2 separate regions of the Homo sapiens genome follow, and region 1 is linked to region 2. The links are contacts of gene promoters, found by promoter capture Hi-C in blood cells and fetal thymus (Javierre and others, 2016). All regions are on one chromosome and are shown on one strand. Each heading gives the region's core, a stretch centred on a gene start or on the middle of the fragment in contact. The rest is flanking DNA. Distances are from core to core; before and after follow the strand shown. Region 1 overlaps C5 (complement C5). Region 2 holds the start of MEGF9 (multiple EGF like domains 9).

Region 1 (3,104 bases), core at 131-2,630, 270 kb before region 2:
AGCATCGCAGCAGGCTTTCTGCTGGCCCACTTGCCCAACACAACCATTTTGGTGGCGTCAGGACTAGTGATCGGGACTATTTACCCAGGCATTCTTAGGATCTAAAAGTACTGTGGCAGTTAGGGTTTCTTTCTGCTACTTATTGTTTTATTTATTTATTTTTTTAAGTGTAACTCCTTTTGAACCTGTGTGCCTGTTGCAACTACGCTGAGAGGGAACAATAAAAGTTGTGTCTATGGGCCGGGTGCAGTGGCTCACGCCTGTAATCCCAGCACTTGGGAGGCCGAGGCGGGCGGATCACAAGGTCAGGAGATTGAGACCATCCTGGCGAACACGGTGAAACCCCGTCTCTACCAAAAATACAAAAAAAAAAAATTAGCCGGGCGTGGTGGCGGGGCGCCTGTAGTCCCAGCTACTCCGGAGGCTGAGGCAGGAGAATGGCGTGAACCTGGGAGGCGGAGCTTGCAGTGAGCCGAGATCGCAGCACTGCACTCCAGCCTGGGCGACAGAGCGAGACTCCGTCTCAAAAAAAAAGAAAAAAAAAGAAATTGTGTCTATGCTCGGTGCCTTTTCTTCCTGGAGGCTAGGTCTGACGGTGTACTCAGAAACTAAAGGCACAAAACCTCTAAAAGGAAAGTGAGAATTCAGAGGCAAAAAGCTTAACCTGATTTGGACAACCTCATTGTCCCTTCCAAGATTATGCTCTGCTCCTTCTCTCGGAGGGATTTGCTTCACTGAGAAGCCATCCATTTCCATTAGGTCAGTCCTCTTTTCACCCCCATATTGCTTGCTCCAGGATAGTGGGATCTGAGGGTAGTTCATATCAATTGATAGGTGGTTGCTTGACATAGAAACTGAAGTATCTTCTCTTGTTTCCAGAAAATCGACACAGCTCTAATTAAAGCTGACAACTTTCTGCTTGAAAATACACTGCCAGCCCAGAGCACCTTTACATTGGCCATTTCTGCGTATGCTCTTTCCCTGGGAGATAAAACTCACCCACAGTTTCGTTCAATTGTTTCAGCTTTGAAGAGAGAAGCTTTGGTTAAAGGTATAACTTGTTCCATACATGTATTCAGTGAGTGTTCACTAAGACATAAAGTCTGCTAGTCTGGGAAGTGGGTGGTGACATGTGAACTTGAGTAAGATGCAATTCCTGTCCTCAAGGAACAAACCGTCACAATACGATGTAATGTGTGCCGTTATTCATTCATTTATTCATGCATTCATTCAGCAAATATTTATTCTTTTTTTTAAGACAGGTTCTCGCTCTGTCACCCAGGCTGGAGTGCAGTGGCATGATCGTGGCTCACTGCAGCCTCGATCTCCTGGGCTCAAGTGATCTTCCCACCTCAGTAGCTGGGACTACAGGTGCCCACCACTGAACCCAGTTACTTTTTTTTATATTTTGCAGATACGAGTCTCACTGTGTTTCCCCGGATGATCTCAAATGCCTGGGCTCAAGCACTCCTACTGCCTCAGCCTTCCAAAGTGCTAGGATCACAGGCATGAGCCACCACACCTGTCCTCTATTTATTCCTTTATTCAATAAATATGCATTGAGTATCCTATGTACACCCTGGACACCCCCTATATACCTGGCACTATTCCAGTCTCTGGGAATAAAGGAATAAACAAAACAGGCTCCCCAAAATCCAGGCCATCATGAAACTTAAATTCTAACTGGGGAGACACAAACATGATAAATAAATAAAGCTTTATGAATAGATGGTGATGGCTGATATGAAGAAAAATAGAGCAGGGAAAGAAAATAAGGTGAGAGGATGCATTGTAATTTTAGACAAGCTGACTGGGCTTAAGTTTCACTAAGAGGATGGTGTTTGAGTCAAGAGCTGAAAGGAGGTGAAGAAGCAATTCCTGTGGCTATCTAGAAGGAAGTACCTGGTGGAGAACAGCACGTGCAAATGCCCTGAGGCATGGGCATGCCTGGTGCTCCAAGAATGGCAAGGAGGCCAGTGTGACTGCAGAGGAGTGAGAAGAGGAGTAGGAAGTGAGGTCAGGTAAGGAAAAAGTGAGGGAGCAAGGGAAGGTCATTTAAGGCATTAGAGAGACTCTTCAGGGCTTCTGTAAACAGTTGTGCCGTGGACAAAGTACCTAAGCAATCAAGTGAATCGAGGCTGAAATCTAGCCTGTGCTCCACTCCCCCGGCCACATACCCTAGTTTAGGGCTGCTTCCACCTAGAGCAAGGAGTGCCCATGTCTTATCCACAGCAATGTGCTGTGGGGACCAGAAGGAGCCCTAGAACTTTAATTTCAGCTTTGAGAGTGAAAAGGGGAGCCACTGGGGGATTTTGAGCAAAGGAGTGCATGACCTGGCTTATATTTTACCAGGTTTGCTATAAAAGTATGTGTTTGGTTTTGAAGAATAAAGATACTGCTTCCTATAGGTCAAGAGACAAAAAATAGAAAGAGAGTAGCAGTGATTATTAGCATGGTTGGGCACTTTGGAGTCCTCTTCTAGCTAAGGCTTTATAAATCTTACTGAGGTTTATGACCATCTACAAAATATGATTTGTGCCATCATTTTAAAATTACTATATTTTAACATATGCCTCAAAACCACTTGTACGATACTTCAAAAATAACACAAAAGAAATGTCTTGGGTATTGTGAGATATGGGTCATAAAATCATAAAATTTAAGATCTAGAAGGGAACTTAATAATCCAAGAGTTGTTCCAGTTGGGTTTCTTTAAAATCCTAAACTCAACTCTTCATTTTAAATACAGCAAATCTGAGACTCTGAGAGGAAGGGTCAATATCATTTTCAAGGTCATGCAAATAATGTAGTTATGAATTATAAACATACACATCAAAATTTTTACTAACCTTCAAATATGATTTCCAAATATGCATTACTTTTTTTAAAACAAATAGTTTGTTCCAAAAAGGATTTGAGGTTTACAGGTTTAAATAACAAATATAATTTACAGCCTAATTTATGAAAAGTGCTGCATGTACGAAATTGTCTTGAGTGCTTTAAATTGGAAAGAAATAATGAAAGACTGAACTAAGGCTTTAGGTTTAATCTCATAATTTCCAGGATGTAAATTTTCCTATCAGGAAAAAGGTTCTCCAGTTTAT
Region 2 (3,233 bases), core at 567-3,066:
GGGAGGGTCAGCAAGGGAATATGGGGGACTGGCATGACCTGTCCACCCTCCCAAAGCAAAGTAAAAATAGAACCTTGGTTAGTGCTTGCTAAATATTGGTCCTGAAGACAGAACACTCACATTCTCCCTCATTCCCGCTGTCTTATATACATAGACCTATCAAGACACACCCATAGATAACCACAAATGCAAAAACACAGAAAATACACAAAAACACACACCAGTACACATGCACAGATTATTAAGACACAATATATGAAAATAGATACTAGCTCCCATACTCATAAACTCACACAGATACATACAACACTCATACACACAGACTCACAAACATGTTTATGCATTCATACACAGCCTCCCCCACCCACTACTCATGCAGGAAAATAAATGCATGCTTTAATTAACATACACGGGTTCACACATAAATCTCATCCTGCTGGTCTGGTTGAAGACCAATGACTAATGGGAAACCATGCACAAAGCCAAACATCACGTAGGGGAGGCCGGGATTGGGTTAGCAGTGGGGCTTGAATTAAGCCCCATCAGATGACAAACCCGCCCTGCCTGGCTTCCTCTGGAAGCTGCTGAGCCGAAGCAGCAGCGCCTGACCTAGCTCTGGATCCTGGGCGGATGATGCGAGGCTGCGTGCCCGAATTCCAGCTTGATTCAGGGTTTAGTGTCATCCAGGGTCAAGCTCGGCTATTAGCCCCACCCCAACCCCTGCAACCAGCCGGAGGCTCTGGGGGCACTGAAGGGCTGTGGCCTGGGGCTGCTTTCTAATCCTGGGCTTGCCCTGGCGCAAATGCTGAGAATAGTTAGCATTAATGAGGGTTACAACAGTGGGCCAGGCTCTGGGCTAAGCCCTTTACGTCCATGACTTAATTCTCACAACAGCTCTGTGAGGGGGGTGGGGGGTGAGGGGTGTCCTATCATCTCCATTTTAGTGGTGAAAAAACCGCGCTCAGGCCACAAAACCATTCAGCAAAAGACATCAAGTTGAGGTTCAACCCTGTCTGATCCTATTCTTCCCGGGGTTTAGGTAAGTGTGCTTGCGAGCCTGTCTCCTCCACGCAGGAAGCTTGCACCTTCTGCCCTCAGGGGTCTCCACCGCCCGGTCCCGCCCCCTTGTCCAGTCTGGCACAACACCTGGCCCACAGCAGGTTTCTGGTGAGGGCGTGGGTCTCGGTTCAGGGAGGCCCTCAGCAAGGGCCTCAGCTTCCCCATCTCTGAAATGGGAATGGCGGCAGAGACCTCGCAAGGCTGCGACCAGGCTCTCTGGAGCAGCAGAGGGCATGCCAAGCTCTACATCGTCGCTGCCGCTGCCCTCTCCCATCGCGGGGTTCCCGCGCGGTCCCCGCCCGAGCTGGGGTGCGGCGCTGGCGCCCCATTGTTCAGGAGGGCGGGGATGCTCCCGAGTGCTGATTCCACCCCCCGCTCGTGCTCGCAGCCCGGTGGAGCAGATGACTAGGCCCGGCGTCTGCCGCGCGGGGCGCATCCTTTGTCTGCTCCGCGGCGCCCGGTGCCCGAGGCCCGCGCCCCACTCTTTGGGCAGACAAAGCCGGGGCCGCCGCGAGCCCGGCGGGCTAGAGCTGGGCTCGCACCACCCTTCTCCCGCCTCACGGACCGCCCCCTCTCCTGGACGTCCTCTGATTGGCCTACGGGGCTACAAAGAGGCCGGGAAGCGGGCGGATCACGTGGGCGACTGTGGCTTCCCATTGGTTAGGCGCGGCTGCCAATCGAGGAGGGCGGGCGGTCCGCGCTCGGTCCGGTCGCTCCCTCCGCGCTGGGGCCCGCCCGCGGGGCCGGCCGCCTGTCAGAGGGAGGTGGCGATGGTGCGCCCGGTGGCGGTGGCGGCGGCGGTTGCGGAGGCTTCCTTGGTCGGATTGCAACGAGGAGAAGATGACTGACCAACCGACTGGCTGAATGAATGAATGGCGGAGCCGAGCGCGCCATGAGGAGCCTGCCGAGCCTGGGCGGCCTCGCCCTGTTGTGCTGCGCCGCCGCCGCCGCCGCCGCCGCCGTCGCCTCAGCCGCCTCGGCGGGGAATGTCACCGGTGGCGGCGGGGCCGCGGGGCAGGTGGACGCGTCGCCGGGCCCCGGGTTGCGGGGCGAGCCCAGCCACCCCTTCCCTAGGGCGACGGCTCCCACGGCCCAGGCCCCGAGGACCGGGCCCCCGCGCGCCACCGTCCACCGACCCCTGGCTGCGACTTCTCCAGCCCAGTCCCCGGAGACCACCCCTCTTTGGGCGACTGCTGGACCCTCTTCCACCACCTTTCAGGCGCCGCTCGGCCCCTCGCCGACCACCCCTCCGGCGGCGGAACGCACTTCGACCACCTCTCAGGCGCCGACCAGACCCGCGCCGACCACCCTTTCGACGACCACTGGCCCGGCGCCGACCACCCCTGTAGCGACCACCGTACCGGCGCCCACGACTCCCCGGACCCCGACCCCCGATCTCCCCAGCAGCAGCAACAGCAGCGTCCTCCCCACCCCACCTGCCACCGAGGCCCCCTCTTCGCCTCCTCCAGGTGAGTCCGGCGCTCCCTCTCGGGCAGGACCCGTCCTCACCTCAGCCCCGGCAATCTAGGGTTGGGCTCTTGCCTATAATTTATCGTTTGTTACCCCAAAGACACCCCAGGTTCCGGCTCCCGAGGGGGGATCCCAGGTCCAGCTAGTCTCCCTCCCGCCCCCGATCAATCTGGAAAGTCTTTTGTCCCCCGTGGGCTGTGCTCCCTCGGGAGGGGGTGGCTGCTGGGTGGAAGGCATCTCATCTTCTTCCCAACAGGGCTTTCTGGCCTTTTTCAGAGACCAGAATGGGCGCAAACTTTTGGGTTGGGTTCGCGCACCCAGCCTCTCTGCCTGGGTTATTTGGGGAAGTTTGAAAGCCCGCATAGTACCTCCTTCAACCACTGGGTCAAAAGCTGAGGGTAAGGAATTCCTCCCAAAGCTCCAGTTTCCCTGTTCATTTCTTCTTGTTTATGTAAATATCAGATGTGTGTGTATGACAGGTGGAAGAGAGGTAGTGAGAGGATTTTGTTTACAAACAGTAGTATGGACCACTTGAGGGCAAAAAATAAAAACAAAAAAGGCATTGTAATCCATGTTGTCCCTGCAAATAAGTGGATTCAGTAGGTCATTTGGGACAGGTGTGTATCTAGGCTGAGCACATTTACAAATTAGGTTAAATCTCTTCCTCGCACCATTTTTTTCTTCCACAATTATAAGGTCAACAT

What was found. Contacts are between HindIII fragments. The CHiCAGO score rates a contact against its expected background, and 5 or more counts as called.
Region 1: a contact is called between a fragment that was not itself captured here and the fragment with the promoter of MEGF9 in region 2, in 4 of 17 cell types (non-activated CD4 T cells, activated CD4 T cells, erythroblasts and 1 more). The highest score is 5.4, in non-activated CD4 T cells.

Annotation. Positions count from the first base shown.
Region 1 is chr9:120,978,030-120,981,133 of GRCh38, reverse strand. C5 (complement C5) reads left to right here. Exons shown (of 41, transcript NM_001735.3): 28 at 880-1,051. Among named protein-coding and RNA genes, the nearest start is that of C5-OT1, 27 kb to the right of the region's middle. The HindIII fragment of the contact is 677 bases long and covers 1,042-1,718 here.
Region 2 is chr9:120,713,053-120,716,285 of GRCh38, reverse strand. MEGF9 (multiple EGF like domains 9) reads left to right here and starts at 1,816. Exons shown (of 6, transcript NM_001080497.3): 1 at 1,816-2,528. The coding sequence starts at 1,928. RefSeq lists a silencer at 1,279-2,128. The HindIII fragment of the contact is 2,825 bases long and covers 1,081-3,233 here.